Regions from separate parts of the Homo sapiens genome. Here regions 1 and 3 are each linked to region 2. Evidence: promoter capture Hi-C in human tissues and cell types (Jung and others, 2019). All regions are on one chromosome and are shown on one strand. Each heading gives the region's core, a stretch centred on a gene start or on the middle of the fragment in contact. The rest is flanking DNA. Distances are from core to core; before and after follow the strand shown.

Region 1 (3,908 bases), core at 900-3,399, 370 kb after region 2:
AGGTGCGTCCCCAGGAGCTGCTGGTTCAGCTTGCCTCAATATCTTATCAGTAAGTGCATTCCTGGACGTGCTTGGAGTCAGCTTGCACTAGTTATGCCCTTAAGGGAGGGAGGTAAAGGGGCTGTAAGTGAAGGAAATAAAATGGAGTCTGTCCGGCTCTCTCAGCTAAGAGAGATAATCAGGTTAAAACAAGGTAGGGTATCAAGAGATCATGCCATTGTACTTCAGCCTGGGGGACAAGAGCAAGACTTTGTCTCAAAAAAAAAAAAAATTGGTAATATGGTGCACTGTAAGCTACAGAAAGACAGTTATAAAGAAAGATTTTATATAAGGAAGAATCTTGTATGTTAAATTCTTGTTCTAAAAGGAGATGACTGGTTGTTTAAAGAATGGATGTTTAGGACAAGTCAGAAAGTTTGTTATAAGATGGTCTGTGGAAATAAAGAGTTGAATAATTAAAGGAAAGGCATTGCCAAGATTAACACTAAAGTTACTTTAGCCACCGGATGATGTATTTCTCCCAATCATATTGAAAGTTATAAAAATGGCCTAAACCTAAAAGTATTCCCTAATGGCAAGTCAAGGGGAAAATGTATGTTTTTCTCAAAGAAAATGTTACTTTTATATTAACGTTTCTGGTAATGTACAGCAACATCTAGTGGAGGCAAACCAGTATTACAATCCATTGGGACAACTAACAGGTGTAGAACTCTGCTATTATACCATAAGGTTGTATTACCCCACTAGCAGCGGTCATCTTAATATGAATATTCTAATCCTGTCTTCAAAACCTTCTGGTAAAAATTATCTCTTTTTTGCCTAGGTGCTGCAAACAGAGCCACACGAGGACACACCATTCTTTTTTTTTATTGTTTGTTTGTTTGATTTAAGACGAAGTCTCGCTCTGTCACCCAAGCTGGAGTGCAGTGGTGAGATATCGGCTCACTGCAACCTCCGCCTCCCAGGTTGAAGCAATTCTCCTGCCTCAGCCTCCCTAGTAGATGGGATTACAGGCACGCAACACCAAGTCTGGATAATTTTTGTGTTTTTATTAGAGATGCGGTTTCACCATGTTGGCCAGGCTGGTCTTGAATTCCTGACCTCAGGTGATTCACCTGCCTCGGCCTCCCAAAGTGCTGGGATTACAGGCATAAGCCACTGCACCTGGCCTGGACACACCATTTTTTTTCAAGAACTCTTAGATCAACCTCAGGAGGAGCCCTAACTGCTGTTCCCCAACATGATGGCCCTTTTCAGCAGGAAGTATCTTGAAAGATTCGTCATCTGACACCCCCTAACAGCAGTTAGGAATACGTCTCCTGAGGGGAGAATAATATAGGAGTTATTAAGAAATTATTTTAGGCATTTAGAGAGGGTAAAAGAGTTCTCTCACTAGAATTTTTCTTTAATAAAAAGCAGCCCCAAAGCCAATTCTTTTCTAACAGAAAACAGCCTGAAAAGTCAAGCTGCAAGCTGATAAGCAGGCTGGAGACTTTCATTTGTAAATGCAGGCGGCTGTATTAAAAGGCAAGTACATTTCAACAGAGGTGAATTCCTCCTCTTTTTTCTTTGACACCACTTGTGTGGGTGTCATGGCACCAGCCAGGTAAAGCCACGTGAGCAGGTATCATGGTGACAGGTAGAAGCTACATTTGCATAATAAAAGACTAGGGTGGGAGGGCCAGCCTTTGCATGGGTTATGTAAATGGCACACCTGGTCAACCAATCTCCTGTGCCCTATGTAAATCAATCACTGACTCCTCAAGCTTCTCTACAAAATCAATTGTGTTCTACCCGCAACCAGGAAATTTTTTAGGTGACCCTGTTTCTCAGCATGAGGAGCTTTCTCTCTCTCTGTTATTTTTGCCTATTAAACTTTCTTTTTTTTTTTTTTTTTTTTTTTTTGAGACGGAGTCTCACTCTGTCGCCCAGGCTGGAGTGCAGTGGCGCCATCTCGGCCCACTGCCAGCTCTGCCTCCCGGGTTCACGCCATTCTCCTGCCTCAGCCTCCCGAGTAGCTGGGACTACAGACGCCCGTCACCACGCCCGGCTAATTTTTTGTATTTTTAGTAGAGACGGGGTTTCACCGTGTTAGCCAGGATAGTCTCGATCTCCTGACCTCGTGATCCACCTGCCTCGGCCTCCCAAAGTGCTGGGATTACAGGCGTGTTGTCTATTAAACTTTCCACCCCAAAATCAATCCTCGTGTGTGTTCGTGTTCTAAATTTTCCTCGTGTGAGACAACAAACCCCAGGTATTTACCCCAGACAATGCAGCCATTTCAGAGTCTGGGAAATGAATCTTAGTCACAGAAAAAAAGAACAGCAATGAACATGGCAAGGTGCTTATGATTCTGGTCCACTGGATCTTCCTATCCCTAGGAAAGTAAATACCATCACAGTCAGCACCCAGCAAGTTACCACCATATAATTTCTTGTTTGTTCCAAAATAAATACAGGTGATTCTTATCACAAAGGCAAATAAAAAGTAGTTTACTTTTTAAACTGAACTGTATCAGTTTAGTTTACTCTTAAGTTCTTATAATTTTGAAAATGCAGTTGACACTTGTATGGCTTATGAAATTTTTGATAGTCTAACATTACTTGAATTGTTCAAAGAACAGTATATTTTAAATTAAGAAGAGTAAACTGTATGTGTTTGTTTCCTATATTTAAGGTTTAGAATCACAAATTACACTCCTGTTTATGATTTGAAAACTTCAAAGTTTGGTTTTTCCATCTGTACATACACAGAACAGTGTTATCGTGCTGAAACATTTGTATCTTAAGATGGCAGTCACAGTTTCCATCTGTCTGGATATATTTTGGACTTTTGCATGTTAAACATAAGAAAGAGACTTTTTGTTTTAGGTAATCTAAGACTGTTGTACACAAACTACAGATTACTGTAGGGTTCAGCAAACTATGTTTATAATGTGACATTAATATCTATTTTGATGTCTAAATCAAAACTTTTTTTAGAAATAATTTTTTTTTTACAAATATCTCCACAAATTCAGGTTTATTTTATAAAATGGCAGGATAGTAAAGAAATAGGTGGTTTGCCATAGTATATGAATACATGCACTTAATTAAAATACCAAATATTATAATCAAAATTTAGATAGCAGATTTAAATAATTTCTTGATTTTTCACTACAGGATAGAAATTCACAAATATTTTATAAATCAAAGCTATTAGTATTAGGTTTTACTTAGTAGTAATATATATATATATTCTGGGTATTTAAAAAATATATATATATTCTGGGTATTTGAAAACACCAAATTATTGATGAAAATGTCCATTTTGAACAAATTATTGATCATATATATCATACATCATACATACATATCATATATGCAATCATACATTATCATATATGTATGATGTATAATATATGATCAAGAATTTGTTCAAAATGGGTATTTTTCATCAATAATTTGGTGTTTTCAAATACCCAGAAGTCTTGTTTTAATCAGATTAACTCTAAGAATAGTTTACTAATTTTATTTTTTATGGTGTGTTCAAAATTTGATAGTTTAATATGGATTGATGATGGGTAAACTAATCAATTTCTTTTCAAATCTCATAGGCCTATTACATTGTCAAGGATGTTATTAATAAAAATTCTTTCTTTTAATATTGTTTACAGGGATTTAGGTCTAGTCTAATCTGCTCAACCTGTTAATCAGTGTCAGCTGCCAGATTCCAACTCATTTTTAGTGTGCCTATGTGACTTTTTCTCCATAGTCTCTGAATTACATTTTGATTAGTTATTGGAATATCATATAGCACAGCTCATACATTTAAAACAAAACCACCAGGTAAAATGAGTTCTGGTTTAGTATAAAGAAGCTGTCACCAAGTTAGTGTTACATACATAGATGGATGTGGCTCAACAAGAT
Region 2 (4,211 bases), core at 1,323-3,822:
GCAGAAGAATTGCTTGAACCCGGGAGGCAGAGGTTGCAGTGAGCCAAGATTGTGCCATTGCACTCCAGCCTGGGCAACAAGAGCAAGAGTCCATATTAAATATAAATATAAATACATATATATTTGATTATATATATATTCACAAAAAATACATCTGAGAAAATTCCTAAACTTACTCTAAGAAAGGAAAACTTAAATGAGAATTTCTCACAAATAAAATACATGATTAATATTAATTTTTTCTGAAATCCACCTCTTTTATGCCCTCTGTTAATATTTTCTTACCTTCCAAGTCCTATTAATAAAATGCAATTTACAGTTAAATAATGGAAGTCAACATAAGTGAACAAATCTTTTCAAGGTGACAAACCCAGGGAGTGGTAGTGCTAATTAGAAAACAGATGTGTCTAGACCGGGCGCGGTGGCTCACGCCTGTATTCCCAGCACTTTGGGAGGCCGAGGCGGGCGGATCACCTGAGGTCTGGAGTTTGAGACCAGCCTGACCAACATGGAGAAACCCCATCTCTACTAAAAATACAAAAACATTAGCTGGGTGTGGTGGCACATGCCTGTAATCCCAGCTACTCGGGTGGCTGAGGCAGGAGAATCGCTTGAACCTGGGAGGCGGAGGTTGCGGTGACCCGAGATCGTGCCATTGCACTCCAGCCTGGGCAACAAGAGTGAAACTCCACCTCAAAAAAAAAAAAAAAGAAAAGAAAGAAAACAGATGTGTCTGACTGATATTCACCCACCCCATTCTGCTCACCTTAAGTGCTCAATAACCACCCTCTCAGGAGACATTACACTATGCCCCAGGTGCATTTTACTTTGTAAGTTCTTGCACCATCTCACTTGGGTCAGGTTTTTCTTTGTCTTTTGGGATACTTTTTTTTTTCCACAAAATTTAGAGAATTCAGGGGGCAGAAATTATTTCTGTGTTTTCCCCTCAATACCAGCATCTGATTGGCTGACCAGCACTGTGTCTCCAAGAAATGGAAGCTGGGTTGGGTGAAGACAATCTTAATGTCTCAAGGGGTTAGCTTTTCAAAGGAAGAGTATGCCAGGAGATGCCTCTCAGCCCCAGGGCATCCACCTGCTCCCTTGAGAAGCTACACTCCATACCTCAGGTTGTCCTCAGGGAGAAAAATGACCCAGGAGCTGATATTCACTAGACACTCTAGCAGAAAAAGTCATGATGTGTATCTTGGTTTACTCCAGACAGTACTGAAACCCAGGACCAGGAAAAAACTGAAGGGTGGCTGAAGACACATCACTCCGTAAAGTTTCCAAAGAAAAACCTTCACCTGAAAACAAACATTCTGATAAGATTTCTGTGCCTGAGGAAGATAAAAAAAAAAAAGCCATAGAAATTTCATAAAATACAGTGTCAGGGAATTATTTTTTGCTTTCTTCTCATGAGAAATATTTTCAACCAGAAAACAATTTTAAGTGCCATCCAATGCTTTGTCAAAAAATGATTAACTAAAATACAGTATCAAAAATGTACACTAAAGGAAAAACAGTTGAGAATGTGAATTAGGAAAGGCAAGCTGGCATTTGGAAATGTCAGAAGGAACTAGAAATTTAGTATTTTAGTTTATTTGCAGTTTAAATCTAACTGCAGGCCAGAGTTAGGCTGGAGGAATGGGGCTGGGAGGTACACTTGAGACCCCGCTTGGAACGCATGTGAAAAATGCAGGGGAAAATCAGTCCCCTGTGGAGTGTGAGAATAATTAAGTGGCAGGCAATTACACTGAGGAGGCTCTAGTCCCCGGCTTTCTACTTAACAGCAACAGCTACGTAAATGTACCTAACCGATTATTAAATATAGTTTTCTTCATCATGCACCTTATAAAAAGTCTTTCCTTCAAGCTCCTCCCATGAACCACAAACTACAAAACATACTTTTGTGCTCTACAATTATTGAATCACTCTTTGATTAAATTCTTTAATATTTTTTGCGATGACTGCCACAGATTTTTAATAGGAGAAAATAGGAACCGGGAACCCCACAGACCAAAGCTCTTCCCATTCATGAACCCGACCCCAAGTCAGGATTCTCCCCTGACCACCCTCCCATGGTCCCTGCACAATCTGGGAGAGGCGCGGCGCTGCCGGTGCAGAGCCGCCCAGAGAGGGCTGCAGGCCAGGGCACAGTCACTGCGCAGGGAAGAGACAGGACGCCCGGGGGCCCGGCTGTCGGCGCAGCCGCCATCTTATGGCTGAAGGGGACTGAGGCCGAGCTAGGCAAGGAGAACTCGGAGCGCAGATTGTGGAGATGACTGCGGGGAGTCCTGAGTCCCGCCACAGCCACTTCCCACAGGTTTCAACCAGCCCTTCCCCTCTCTCGGGATGTCGGACGGCACTCTCACCATTTCTAGGCTTCCAGAGGGTCCTGGAGTCTTAGCTGTGGATCTCCCAATACCTGCAGGTCACAGAGCCACAGAGTCTGGGCCTCTAGGAGCAGAGGACAAACAGCAGTGAAGACGAGACCGGAGCTCCGGCTGCAGCAAGAGACAAAGGCCGCGCCAAACCCGGAAGCCGCCCTGTCCGGTCCAGCTGCGTGTCTGAGTGAACTGTCCCCAGCTCAGAGTCCCTGATTGGATAATGTTAAAACCCGCCCCTTCAGGCCCTGAGGGACGGAAGATGTGATCAGATGCTGGGCTGAATGAAGTGTGACAGCCTATGCTGCAGCCTTTTCAGGCAAGGCTTCCTCCCTGAGCTGAGCCAGGCCCACCCGAGAGGGTGTTTGCCTTTAATCTTGTGTATAAGGTCATATGCCCTTATAAATAATATGCTATATGGCTATTCACAAATGAAAAGAATATAATAACCCAATTGTTCTAAAAAAAATTTTTTTTTTGAGATTGAGTTTCACTCTTGTTGCCCAGGCTGGAGTGCAATGGCGCGATCTTGGCTCATCGCAACCTCCACCTCGCGGGTTCAAGCGATTCTCCTGCCTCAGCCTCCCGCGTAGCTGAGATTACAGGCATGCGCCACCATGCCCGGCTAATTTTTTTGTATTTTTAGTAGAGACGGGGTTTCTCCATGTTGGTCAGGCTGGTCTCAAACTCCAGACCTCAGGTGATCCTCCCGCCTCGGCCTCCCAAAATGCTGGGATTACAGGCATGAGCCACTGCGCCCGGCCCAACTGTTCTAAAATTTTATATTTTGTGACCTTCCTGACTTCTGGTCCTTTGAGCAGGCAGCCTGAGATTTTAAAAAGGAGGCAATTCTCTGAAATAAAATGTGAGCCACAAGTTGGGCGCTGTACCTCACGCCTGTAATCCCAGTACTTCGGGAGGCCGAAGAGGGTGGATCATCTGAGGTTCAGAGTTCGAGATCAGTCTGGCCAACATGGTGAAACCCCGTCTCTAAAACAATACAAAAAAATTAGCTGGGCATGGTGGCAGGCGCCTGTAATCCCAGCTACTTGGGAGGCTGGGGCAGGAGAATCGCTTGATCCTGGGCGGTGGAGGTTGCAGTGAGACGAGATCACGCCACTGCACTCCAGTATGGACAACAAGAGTGAAACTCTGTCTCAAAAAAAATAAATAAATAAAATAAAATCATAAAATGTGAGCCACATGTAAATTTTAAATTTTCTAGTAGCCAAACTTTATTTTATATTTTTATTTTTTTAGACGGAGTCTCACATTGTTGCCTGGGCTGGAGTGCAATGGCGCGATTTCTGCTCACTGCAACCTCTGCCTCCCGGGTTCAAGCGATTCTCCTGCCTCAGCCTCCCAAGTAGCTGAGATAAAAGGCGCTGGCCACCATGCCCGGCTAATTTGTAGCCAAACTTTAAAAAGAGTTTAGCTCTATTTTTAAAAAGAAACAAAGAACAGGTGAAATTGATTGTAACAATTTAACCCAATATATCGAAAATATTGTCATTTTAATATGTGAGAAATATGTAATTATTAATGAAGTGTGTCTATATATATGGAACTAAACCTTTGAAACTAACTCGTATTTTACCTTTCTAGCACATCGCAGTTCAGACCAGGCGCATTCCAGGCAGCCAGTAGCAACACAGGGCCAATAGCTGCTACATTGAAGTGCAGCTCTGACATCAGGAGGGTGAACGACCTGAACATCCCTTTTCTGCCGGAGGTGAGGAGAGAGCCTCTCCCTACCAACATCTCTCTTCGGTTCTGAGGGTAGAACAGACAGTGGTCATAGACAGAGCAGAGGGCAGGCCGGGCGGA
Region 3 (4,132 bases), core at 1,523-4,022, 340 kb before region 2:
GGCATCTCCGAAGGAAAGGTAACAGCCCCAGTCAGGGGCTTACAGACAAAACCCCCATCTCCCTGGGAAAGAGCACCTGGGGGAAGGGGCAGCTGTGGGCACAGCTTCAGCTGATTTAATTGTTCCTGCCTGCTGGCTCCGAAGAGAGCAGCTGATCCTGACAAGAGGGATTCTGCCAGCACAGCACACCAGCTCTGCTAAGGGACAGACTGCCTCCTCAAGTGAGTCCTTGACCCCTGAGCCTCCTGACTGAGAGAAATCTCCTAACAGGGTTCAACAGAGACCTCATAAAGGAGAGCTCTAGCTGGCATCAGGCCAGTGCCCCTCTGGGATGAAGCTTCCAGAGGAAGGAGCAGGCAGCAGTCTTTGCTGTTTTGCAGCCTCCACTGGTGATACCCAGGTGAACAGGGTCTGAAGTGGACCTCCAGCAAACTGCAGCAGACCTGCAGAAGAGGGGCATGACTGTTAGAAGAAAAGCTAACAAACAGAAAGCCACAACATCAACAAAAACATAAAGGACCCCCACACAAAAACCCCATCCAAACCTCATCAGCCTCAAAGATCAAAGGTAGATAAATCCATGAAGATGAGTAAAAACCAGTATAAAAACACTAAAAATTCCAAAAACCAGAATGCCTCTTCTCCACAACTCCTCTCCAGCAAGGGCACAAAAGTGGCTGGAGAATCAGACTGATGAATTGACAGAAGTAGGCTTCAGAAGGTGGATAATAACAAACTCCTCTGAGCTAACAGAGTATATTCTAACCCAATGCAAGGAAGTTAAGAACCTTGATAAAAGGTTACAGGAACTGCTAACTAGAATAAACAGTTTAGAGAGGAACTTAAATGGCCAGATGGGGCTGAAAAACACAGCACAAACACAAGAACTTCATGAAGCATACACAAGTGTCAATAGCTGAATCAATCAAACAGAAGAAAGGATATCAAAGATTGAAGATCAACTTACTGAACTAAGGCATGAAGACAAGCTTAGAGAAAAAAGAATGAAAAGGAATGAACAAACCCTCCAGGAAATATAGCACTACATGAAAAGACCAAACCTGTGATTGGTTGGTGTATCTGAAAGTGGCAGGGAGAATGGAACCAAGTTGGAAAACACATTTCAGGATATTACCCAGGAGAACTTCCCCAACCTAGCAAGACAGACCAACATTCAAATTGAGGAAATACAGAGAACATTGCTAAGATACTCCTCAAGAAGAGCAACCCCAAGACACATAATCGTCAGATTCTCCAAGGTTGAAATGAAGGACAAAATGTTAAGGGCAGCCAGACAGAAAGGTCAGGTTAAATACAAAGGTAAGCCCATCAGACTAACAGCAGATTTCTCTGTGAAAATCCTACAAGCCAGAAGAGAGTACGGGCCAATATTCAACATTCTTGAAGAAAAGAATTTTCAACCCAGAATTTCATATCCAGCCAAAGTAAGCTTCATAAGCGAATGAGAAAGAAAATCCTTTACAGACAAGCAAATGCTGAGGGATTTCATCACCACCATGCCTGCCTTACAAGAGCTCCTGAAGGAAGCACTAAATATGGAAAGGAAAAACTGGTACCAGCCACTGTAAAAACACACCAAAATATAAAGACCAATGACACTATGAAGAAACTGCATCAACTAACATGAAAAATAACCAGCTAGCATCATGATGACAGGATCAAATTCACACATAACAATATTAACCTTAAATTTAAATGGGCTAAATGCCCCAATTTAAAGACATAGACTGGCTAACTGGATAAAGAGTCAAGACCTATCAGTGTGCTGTATTCAGGAGACCTATCTCACATGCAAAGACACATATAGGCTCAAAATAAAGGTATGCAGGAATATTTACCAAACAAATGAAAAGAAAAAAAAAAGCTGGGGTTGCAATCCTAGTCTCTGATAAAATAGACTTTAAACCAAAAAAGATCAAAAAATAAAAAGAAGGGCATTACATAATGGTAAAGGGATCAATGCAACAAGAAGAATTAACTATCCTAAACATATAAGCACCCAATACACGAGTGCCCAGATTCATAAAACAAGTTCTTAGAGATCTACAAAGAGACTTAGACTCCCACACAATAATAGTGGGAGACTTTAACACCCCTCTGTTAATATTAGACAGATCAAGGAGACAGAAAATTAATAAGGATATTCAGGACTTGAACTCAGCTCTGGACCAAGCAGACCTAATGGACATCTACAGTACTCTCCACACCAAATCAACAGAATATAAATTCTTCTCAGTGCCACACAGCACGTATTCTAAAATTGACCACATAATTGGAAGTAAAACGTTCCTCAGCAAATGCAAAAGAATGAAAATCATACCAAACAGTCTCTCAGACCACAGGACAATCAAATTAGAACTCAGGATTAAGAAACGCATTCAAAACCTCACAACTACATGGAAATTGAACAACCTGCTCCTGAATGACTACTGGGTAAATAACGAAATGAAGGCAGAAGTAAATAAGTTCTTTGAAACCAATGAGAACAAAGACACAGTGTATCAGAATCTCTGGGACCAGAATCTAACACAGCTAAAGCAGTGTTAAGAGGTAAATTTATAGCACTAAATACCCACAACAGAAAGCTGGAAAGATCTAAAATCAACACCCTAAAATCACAATTAAAAGAACTAGAGAAGCAAGAGCAAACAAATTCAAAAGCGAACAGAATACAAGAAATAACTAATACCAGAGCAGAACTGAAGGAGATAGAGACACAAAAAACCTTCAAATAATCAATTAATCTAGGAACTGGTTTTTTGAAAAGATTAACAAAATAGATAGACTACTAGCTAGACTAGTATAGAAGAAAAGAGACAAGAATCAAATAGGCACAATAAAAAATGATAAAGGGGCTATTACCACTGATCCCACAGAAATACAAACTACTATAAGAGAATACTATAAACATCTCTATGCAAATAAACTTGAAAATTTAGAAGAAATGAATAAATTCCTGGACACATACACCCTCCCAAGACTAAACCAGGAAGAAGATGAATCCCTGAATAAACCAATAGCAAGTTCTGAAACTGAGGCAGTAATTAACAGGCTACCAACCAAAAAATGCCCAGGCCCAGATGGATTCACAGCTGAATTCTACCAGAGGTACAAAGAGGAGCTAGTACCATTCCTTCTGAAATGATTTCAAACAATAGCAAAAGAGGGACTCCTCCCTAACTCATTTTATGAGGCTAGCATCATCCTGATACCAAAACCTGGCAGAGACACAATAAAAAAAAAAATTTCAGGCCAATATCCCTGATGAACATCAATGCGAAAATCCTCAATAAAATACTGGCAAACCAAATCCAGCAGCACATCAAAAAGCTTATCCACCATGATCAGGTGGGCTTCATCCCTGAGATGCAAGGCTGGTTCAACATACACAAATCAACCAACATAATCCATCACATAAACAGAACCAATGACAAAAACCACATGATTATCTCAATAGATGGAGAAAGGGCCTTTGATAAACTTCAACATCCCTTCATGCTAAAAACTCTTAAAAAACTAGGTATGGATGGAACACACCTCAAAATAATAAGAGCTATTGATGACAAACCCATAGCCAATATCATACTGAATGAACAATAGCTGGAAGCTTTCCCTTTGAAAACCGGCACAAGACAAGGATGCCCTCTCTCACCACTCCTACTCAACATCATATTGTAAGTTCTGGCCAGGGCAATCAGGCAAGAGAAAGGAATAATGTGTATTCAAATAGGAAGACAGGAAGTCAAATTGTCTCTGTTTGCAAATGACATGATTGTATATTTAGAAAACCCCATCATCTCAGCCCAAAAACTCCTTAAGCTGATAAGCAACTTTAGTAAAGTCTCAGGATACAAAATCAATGTGCAAAAATCACAAGCATAGGCCTGGCATGGTGGCTCGTGCCTGTAATCCCAGCACTTTGGGAGGCTGAGGTGGGCAGATCATGGGGTCAAGAGATCGAGACCATCCTGGCCAACATGGTGAAATGCCGTCTCTACTAAAAATACAAAAATTAGCCAGGCATGATGGTGTGTGCCTGTAATCCCAGCTACTCATGAGGCTGAGGCAGGAGAATCGCTTGAACCCAGGAGGCGGAGGTTGCAGTGAGCCA

Evidence for each region. Contacts are between HindIII fragments. The study calls those that stand out against the background at their distance.
Region 1: a fragment that was not itself captured here is called in contact with the fragment with the promoter of ZNF708 in region 2 in 1 of the 25 tissues and cell types used here (H1 embryonic stem cells).
Region 3: a contact is called between a fragment that was not itself captured here and the fragment with the promoter of ZNF708 in region 2, in 1 of the 25 tissues and cell types used here (H1 embryonic stem cells).

What each region holds. Positions count from the first base shown.
Region 1 is chr19:21,697,753-21,701,660 of GRCh38, forward strand. No RefSeq gene overlaps it. Among named protein-coding and RNA genes, the nearest start is that of ZNF100, 68 kb to the right of the region's middle. RefSeq lists an enhancer at 1,075-1,575. The HindIII fragment of the contact is 4,382 bases long and covers 1-3,908 here.
Region 2 is chr19:21,326,838-21,331,048 of GRCh38, forward strand. It overlaps ZNF708 (zinc finger protein 708), which reads right to left and starts at 2,573. Exons shown (of 4, transcript NM_021269.3): 1 at 2,373-2,573. The coding sequence starts at 2,375. RefSeq lists enhancers at 516-1,037, 2,126-2,325, 2,366-2,545, 2,430-3,418 and a silencer at 2,665-2,886. The HindIII fragment of the contact is 12,621 bases long and covers 1-4,211 here.
Region 3 is chr19:20,988,638-20,992,769 of GRCh38, forward strand. No RefSeq gene overlaps it. Among named protein-coding and RNA genes, the nearest start is that of ZNF430, 30 kb to the right of the region's middle. The HindIII fragment of the contact is 4,218 bases long and covers 664-4,132 here.